Linked DNA regions of Homo sapiens: region 1 is linked to region 2. Evidence: promoter capture Hi-C in human tissues and cell types (Jung and others, 2019). All regions are on one chromosome and are shown on one strand. Each heading gives the region's core, a stretch centred on a gene start or on the middle of the fragment in contact. The rest is flanking DNA. Distances are from core to core; before and after follow the strand shown. Region 1 overlaps ZNF33A (zinc finger protein 33A). Region 2 holds the start of ZNF37A (zinc finger protein 37A).

Region 1 (4,142 bases), core at 1,613-4,112, 36 kb before region 2:
CATCTCACTCGACATCAGAGGGTGCACACAGGACAGAAACCCTTTCAATGTAATGAATGTGAAAAAGCTTTCTGGGATAAGTCAAACCTCACTAAACATCAAAGATCACACACAGGGGAGAAACCTTTTGAATGCAATGAATGTGGGAAAGCCTTTAGCCATAAGTCAGCCCTCACATTACACCAGAGAACACATACAGGGGAGAAACCCTATCAATGTAATGCGTGTGGGAAAACTTTTTGCCAGAAATCTGACCTCACTAAACATCAGAGAACACACACAGGGCTGAAACCCTATGAATGTTATGAATGTGGAAAATCCTTCCGTGTGACTTCGCACCTTAAAGTACACCAGAGAACTCACACAGGTGAGAAACCTTTTGAATGTCTTGAGTGTGGGAAATCCTTTAGTGAAAAGTCAAATCTTACACAGCATCAGAGAATTCACATAGGAGATAAATCTTATGAATGTAATGCATGTGGGAAAACTTTCTACCACAAGTCATTACTCACCAGGCATCAGATAATTCATACAGGGTGGAAACCTTATGAATGTTATGAATGTGGGAAAACCTTCTGCTTGAAGTCAGACCTCACAGTACATCAGAGAACACACACAGGGCAGAAACCCTTTGCATGTCCCGAATGTGGGAAATTCTTTAGCCATAAGTCAACCCTCTCTCAACATTATAGAACACACACAGGGGAGAAACCCTACGAATGTCATGAATGTGGAAAAATCTTTTACAATAAATCATACCTAACTAAACATAATAGAACACATACAGGGGAGAAACCCTATGAATGTAATGAATGTGGAAAAGCCTTCTACCAGAAGTCACAACTCACTCAGCATCAGAGAATTCACATAGGGGAGAAACCCTATAAATGTAATGAGTGTGGAAAAGCTTTCTGCCATAAGTCAGCTCTAATTGTACATCAGAGAACCCATACACAAGAAAAGCCCTATAAATGTAATGAATGTGGAAAATCTTTCTGTGTAAAATCAGGACTTATTTTCCATGAGAGAAAGCACACGGGGGAGAAACCCTATGAATGCAATGAATGTGGGAAATTCTTCAGGCACAAATCATCACTCACAGTACATCACAGGGCTCACACAGGAGAGAAATCTTGTCAATGTAATGAATGTGGAAAAATCTTTTACCGTAAATCGGAACTTGCTCAACATCAGAGATCACATACAGGGGAAAAGCCCTATGAATGTAACACATGCAGGAAAACTTTCTCTCAAAAGTCAAATCTCATTGTACATCAGAGAAGACATATAGGAGAAAACCTTATGAATGAAATGGATATTAGAAATTTCCAGCCACAAGTCAGCCTCCATAATGCCTCAGAGTATTCACACTGTGGAGAAAGCCCTGATGACATCCTGAATGTTCAGTAACTATCCACAAACTCACCTTATGTTACTCCAAAGTAATAGTAGGGGATAAACCCATAGACTACAACAATTATAGGACAGCTTTTGTTAGGAAGTGATATTCTATGTAATATCAGATGGTTAATACGGGCATAACACCTTACAGATTTTTTTTGAATTTGTGAAAGTTTTTGGCAAAAATGCAAATAAGGTTATGTTAGAATTTACACTGAGGAGAAAATTGTCAATTTAAGAAATCTAAAGTGAAAATTTTGCTTAGAAATAAAATACGACAAGTTATGTTTTGAGTTTGATGCCATAATAGTTTTTAGGGCACCTAACAATAATTTATAGATGTATATTGTGGAATGTAAAGCTTTAAGAACTTAAACAAAGGTAATAATTAAAATAACCTCACAAGAAGTTTAATGAGTAGAGAGAATTCCCATGTACACTTCACCAAACTTCCTCTAAGGATAATGTATAATCATAGTATATGGTCAAGTCCAAGAAATCGATGTTACCTTGCTGGTAGATAGAGACTTAGTCAGATTTTACTATGGTTTGCATGCACTCTGTGTGTGTGTGTACGTGTATGTGTGTGTGTGTGGTTATATCAAACTTTTACGACTTTTACATTTGAGTAACCATCAACACGATTAGTTTACAGAACTGAAAAGGAATCTGAGATCTGTACTGTATCAGGATTACAAAGGATTTAGCCTCAAGTAGTTCCCTTTTTGTATTAATAACCACACGCTTTCTGCAACCCTATCCCTTGCATCCACTTGACTATGAAGTTTTTTTAAAGCACAGATAAATTGAATAATCAGGGCAATAGCATTAAGCACATCTGCGAATTATCCCTGAAGTTCAAAAGACTTATATATGTATAAGTGGTATGTGATATAAATCGTGTGTTTCATATGCATAATGGAATTTAACGTAATTGTGAATAGGAAGTAGGTATCCTAGTTTAGTAGTGGTTACATTATCAGGCCCATCCCAGATGTTTGTGATGTCCTGAAACAATTTAAAAGGAGACCCACAGAGCTAATGTTTATCCATTTAAAAGGTATAAATCAAAATAACAAATTATCTAAAAAAAATCTATCCTGTACATGTGAAGATCTAGGCTCGCCTCCATGTTACTCCCTTTCTCTTCCTACCTGTGGCTCATGCCATGCCATGAAGTGCCTAGGGTACATATGTGAACATTCCAGCCTTCAGCATAAGTGGTAGTCCAAATTTTCTTTAAGCAGCTGCTCTCCAAGACAGGGCCCTGGAAAGGCCCACACATACAGCCCAGGGCTGCCCAGGGCTGTTGGACTGTCATTTCAAGGCTCATTGTCCCCAGACAGGGATCTGGGCCCTCAGACTTTTGAGAATATGAAGAGGAGGGTTGAGGCTGGAGCAGAACCAGAATCAAGCTGGTGTGGGGCTTTTATTGATAGTGTGAAGATTGTACACTATATTACATGATCAGATCATACAAATAATCTAAGATTATACAGTCTAGTGATCCTAGATTACACAAGTAATCTAAGCTTCCACTTTAGGAAACTAGAAAAAGAAGAGCAAATTAAATCCAAAGTAACCTGAAAAAACATTAGAGTAAAAATCATTGAAATTGAAAAGAGAAAATCGATAAAACCCAAAACTGGTTCCTTGAAAAGGTCAGTAAAATTGATAAACCTCTAGCTAGCTTAAGAACAAACAGAAGACAAATATTGCTAATACCAAAAATGAAAGAGGCCATCACAGCTAATCCTATGGTCACCAAAAGGATTAGAAAGAAACATGGACAACTCTGTCCATAAATTTGATAACTTAGCTAAAATGGACCAATTCCTTGCAAGACGCATTCTCTCAAAGCTCACACAAGATAGACCTCAATAGGCATATGTATCTATTAAATAAACCAAAGCAGTAATTAATAACCTTCCAAGGCCAGGTACAGTGGTTCATGCCTGTAATCCCAGCACTTCACTTTGGGAGGCTGAGGCGGGTGGATCACAAGGTCAGGAGTTCGAGACCAGCCTGGTCAACATGGTGAAACCCCCTATCTACTAAAAATACAAAAAATTAGCTGGGCATGGTGGCATGCGTGTGTAGTCGAAGCTACTCAGGAGGCTGAGGCAGAAGAATCACTTGAACCTGGGAGGTGGATGTTGCAGTGAGCTGAGATTGTGCCACTGTACTGCAGCCTGGGTGACAGAATGAGACTGCATCTCAAAAAATAATAATGAAACTTTCCAAAACAAAGTGCCAGGACCAGCTGGGTTCACTGATGTGTTTTTGAGATACTTAAGGTAGAAATGATACCAAGTCTCTACCATCTCTTTCAGAAAATAAAAGCAGAGATAACACTTCCCAACTCATTTTGTGAGGCCAGTATTACCCTAATAGCAAAACCAGGCAAAGATATTACAAGAAAGGAAAACTACAGATCAATATTTCCATTGAACACAGATGCAGAAATCCTCAAAATATTAGCAAATCAGGAATGCAAGGCTTGTTCAACATTTGATATTCAGTGTAATCCATTGCATGCATTAGCAGCTCAAAGATGAAATACGATCATATCAATAGGTACAGAAAAAGCATTTGACAAAATCCAATATCCATTCATGTTAAAACCTCTCAACACAGAAGGAATACAGGAGAACTTACTCAAGTTGGTAAAGAACATACTACAAAAAACCCTACAGCTAACATTATCCTTGATGTTTCCAACTAGACACTTTCCTACTAAG
Region 2 (4,174 bases), core at 566-3,065:
CCAGTCTAAAAAAAAAAAAAAAAAGAAATAATGGAATATTCACAAGTGTCAAGACTGTTTCTTAAAATGCAAAAGCATTAGGCTGGGTGCAGTGGCTCATGCCTGTAATCCCAGCACTTTGGGAGGCCGAAGCGGGCGGATCACGAGGTCAGGAGTTCGAGACCAGCCTGGCCAACACAGTGAAACCCGATCTCTACTAAAATTACAAAAATTAGCCGGGTGTGGTGGCACAAGCCTGTAGTCCCAGCTACTTGGGACGCTGAGGCAGGAGAGTCGCTTGAACCCAGGAGGCGGAGGTTGCGGTGAGCCGAGATCATGTCACTGCACTCCAGCCTGGGTTACAGAGCCAGACTCCATCTCAAAAAAAAAAAAAAAAAAAAAAAACATTATGAGCAGGAAAATAAATTGTGTCTCGAAGTGATAATCATTGTTGTACTTACCATGACTGTCTTCTGAAATGCATCTCAACCCTTGAATAATTTGATTCTTTTACATGGATGGTACTAAATGCTTTTCCAGCATGGGAACAAGTGGGATTATCATCAGTGGTGGTAAAGAAGGGAATAGAAATGGAGAAAAATGCTTCTTTTTTGGTCAGTGGACATTTATTTTTTATTTTTATTTTAACTTAAACTTCAATAGCTTTTGGAGTACAAGTGGTTTTTGGTTATGGATGAATTATAAAGTGGTGGATTCTGAGATTTTAGTGCACCTGTCACCTGAGTAGTGTACACTGTACCTAATGTATAGTTTTTTTTTTTTCATTTTTGAGATGGAGTTTTGCTCTTGTTGCCCAAGCTGAAGTGCAATGGCGCGATTTCAGCTCACTACAACCTCCACCTCTCGAGTTCAAGGGATTCCCCTGCCTCAGCCTCCCAAATAGCTGGGACTGCAGGTGTGTGCCACCACGCCCAGCTAATTTTGTAGTTTTAGTGGAGACGGGGTTTCACCGTGTTACCTAGGCTGGTCTTGAACTCCTGACTTCGTGATCCACCCGCCTCCGCCTCCCAAAGTGCTGAGACTACAGGCGTGAGCCACCGCGCCTGGCCATGTGTAGTTTTTTTAACCTCCGGCCTCCTTCCTACCAGCCCCTTCTGAGTCTCTAAAGTCCATTATATCACTCTGTATGCCTCTGCGTACTCATAGCTTAGCTCCCACTTATAAGTGAGAACCTACGGTTTTTGGTTTTCCACTCCTGTATTACCTCTGCCTGTGAACTTTAAAAAGTTATCGTGATCAAGAGATCCTGCATACTCCTGAAGAATGGAAAATGCATGTTTGCCATGCAAGATGGTATTACGTGGTTTAACAAATAAAATTTGAAGAGCAATTCCGAGTTATCTTTACGACAGCTTACAGGCTGGTAATGCTCATGTCCAGCGTGTTTTCTCACGGTTAGCGTCCAATGGACCAGAAAGGAGCAAGTGAAGCTCTCCACACTGGCGCAAGTGTAGGTGGTGCTGCGGCAGCGTCGCGGGGCCACAGGAACCGACCTCGTCTGGAGAAATTCCACTCGTGAATTCTGCCAAATGAGGAAGTGTTGAGGACGGCCAAATCATCAGGGGGATGTAATTCATGAGAAAGCTGTGTAATTTAAATACTCATAATTTATTTCAGCTAACGAATAAAACTGCAGTACTGCACTTGCCGCATCTGGGAACTAACTGCCCAATGCGGCTGAAACCTCATGCCCTTTCAAAAGGAGTGGCGCGAGGGCTTGTGGGAAATGTAGTCTGCACTTTCTAAGGGAGCGGCGCGAGGGCTTGTGGGAAATGAAGCGTGCACTTTCTAAGGGAGCGGCGCGAGGACTTGTGGGAGATGTAGTGTGCACTTTTCGGCCCCCGTCGCGGGAGCCGCTTCGGGCCTTCTGGGCATGTCTGCCATATGGCTCCAGGTTTGTTTTTCTCCCCGGCACTCTGACGGGGAGGGCTCCCGGCATCTCCTGGCGTCCGGGTAGAGGACGCGGAGGGTGAGTAAGGGAGGGCAGGGGCGAGGGTGGACTGGGGGTTCCGCGCGGCCTGGGGGTGGGAGAGAGGGAACGCCTTTGCCGCCTGGCCTGGGTCCGAATCCTGCCTCGGTTCTTGTGCTCCCAAAGGGAATGCGCAAGTCCCGCGCCTGTGACAAGTGAGGTTGGATTTTCTCTTCCCTGAGGTGAAGGATGCCCGGAGGCCTCCGCAGGACGGCGCAGAAACGGGCCTTCTGCCCAATAGATGCGCGCTTCTCTCATTCTTTCCCCTCAGAATCTCGCTGTCCTCACAACCACCTGTGGTCGGCGTCGCCGCGGTGTCACTGCGATGCCGAGGCGAATGGGGTGGGGGGAAGCGCCCGCGGGGCGGGGAGGGACCCTGCAGGCGCGGACTCCACACCCAGCCTCTGGCCAGCGTCACTCGGCTTGCTGTGTCCTCGCAGGTCGCAGCTTCATTGCCTGATGTCTTCGGGAAGTATTTTGAAGTCATCGTGGCTGTGGATTGGGGAATTTCTTGTTTCCACTGACCTGTGAGGCCGCGCACGCGGAGGGAGGCACCCCAGGCCCTCCGGCACTGTCCAGCCTCGCCTGTGTCCCCATTAGCACCAGTGGGCATTTTCAGAGGGTCCAGCTCATGGCTCAAGTGACAGGAAGATGTAGGAGCTTTCTGTCTTGAATGAGGATTCGAACCAAAGGGCTTAGGCCCAGCTGTCTTGGAGCAAAGCAGCTGTTGTGGGGTAAGAAGGGAAGGGTGGGGGGCGAGGGCCCAGGGGCCCTCCTAGGAGGACACCCAACCCGTTGGGCTGACACCTCACTAGAGATCTAGAGCACGGGTGGGAGGAGCAGAGGCTCGATTTGTGTCCTTTCCAGACCCCCACAGGCTGGGAGCTTTGTGCCCATTCAGATGTGGGGGCAGAAGAGGGCAAGGCCGAAGGAGCAGACAGCACCGCTTCTTGGGGAGTTGTGAAGGCATCATGCGGAGGGAAGAGCTTAGCAGCCAAGTGGAGGACAGCACCCTCCATGCCTGGATTCGTTACTCGCTCGTTCTAGATGCTGAGCTGCTGGCGCACTGCAGCACAACTAGAGATGTACGGATGCCCCCATCTTGATCTTACAGAATCAGAGGTACAGCCGCGAGAAAGGTCTGTAAGTTATCTATTTACGCTTTATTTAAAAGATGGGATGGGGTGGGGTGGACAGGAAACGAGCTTAACGTGTTAAGTTACTGATGACATTGACACATTTTGTTGTGGCAGAGTCAAGAACAGACAGAGTCGCTTGAGGACTCAGGAGGGTGTTTGCTGCGTTGACAACAGAGTAAGTAAAAATCAGTTTGCTTTTTTAAATCCAAAGATTGTTTTGAGAACCTCAAATCAAGTTAGAGCAAGTTCGTTTTCCTTCCAAAAAAACTGGGCTGGGCTGGGCACGGTGGTTCACGCCAGTAATCCCAGCACTTTGGGAGGCTGAGGGGGGTGGATCAAGAGGTCAGGAGTTCGAGACCAGCCTGGCCAACATGGTGAAACCCCGTCTCTACTAAAAATGCAAAAAATTAGCCGGGTGTGGTGGTGCGCACCTGTAGTCCCAGCGACTTGGGAGGCTGAGGCAGGAGGTTGCGGTGAGTCGAGATCATGCCATCGCACTCCAGCCTGGGCAACAAACAGGGCAGGACTCTGTCTCAAAAAAGCAAACAAACAAACAAAAAAAACTGGGCTGAAAAATACCACATCGCTTTTTTCAAAACCTTGTTGGGATTCTCTGGTTTGTAATAAAGATTAAAACCTGAGTATTTTTGTTTAGCATCAGTTTTAATGAAAGTATTATGTTCCACTCTTTGGCTTTTCCTAACTTGCTTAATTAGTTTAATATATCGGTTTGCATACTCTGTTAGAGTACAGCATAAATTGTTTTTAAGTCAGTAGAAAACAAACGTTTTTACATTTGAAAACTAATGAGTCCAAGCAGTACATAATCATGCCAGAGTCATGCATGGGCGTGTGAGTATCTCCCTTTCAGAGATGTTTTGCCGGCTGCGAAGTGGACCTTTTAAGGCAAGTGACATCACTCATGATCTTTTCTTATTTCTCAGCTACACCCTCACAGTTTGCTCTGCTCTTCCAACACCAGTGGAAGATGATCACATCCCAGGTAAGTTGTTTATTTTTTCACCGTTTTGCTTAAAAGTAATTATTGAGGTTTAAAAAATGTCTA

The links. Contacts are between HindIII fragments. The study calls those that stand out against the background at their distance.
Region 1: a contact is called between a fragment that was not itself captured here and the fragment with the promoter of ZNF37A in region 2, in 1 of the 25 tissues and cell types used here (dorsolateral prefrontal cortex).

The regions. Positions count from the first base shown.
Region 1 is chr10:38,055,151-38,059,292 of GRCh38, forward strand. It overlaps ZNF33A (zinc finger protein 33A), which reads left to right. Exons shown (of 5, transcript NM_006954.2): 5 at 1-4,142. The coding sequence ends at 1,410. Among named protein-coding and RNA genes, the nearest start is that of ZNF37A, 37 kb to the right of the region's middle. The HindIII fragment of the contact is 5,674 bases long and covers 26-4,142 here.
Region 2 is chr10:38,092,522-38,096,695 of GRCh38, forward strand. ZNF37A (zinc finger protein 37A) reads left to right here and starts at 1,816. Exons shown (of 8, transcript NM_001324250.3): 1 at 1,816-1,969; 2 at 2,410-2,703; 3 at 3,017-3,108; 4 at 3,223-3,283; 5 at 4,053-4,111. The coding sequence starts at 4,097. RefSeq lists an enhancer at 1,770-1,959. The HindIII fragment of the contact is 17,106 bases long and covers 1-4,174 here.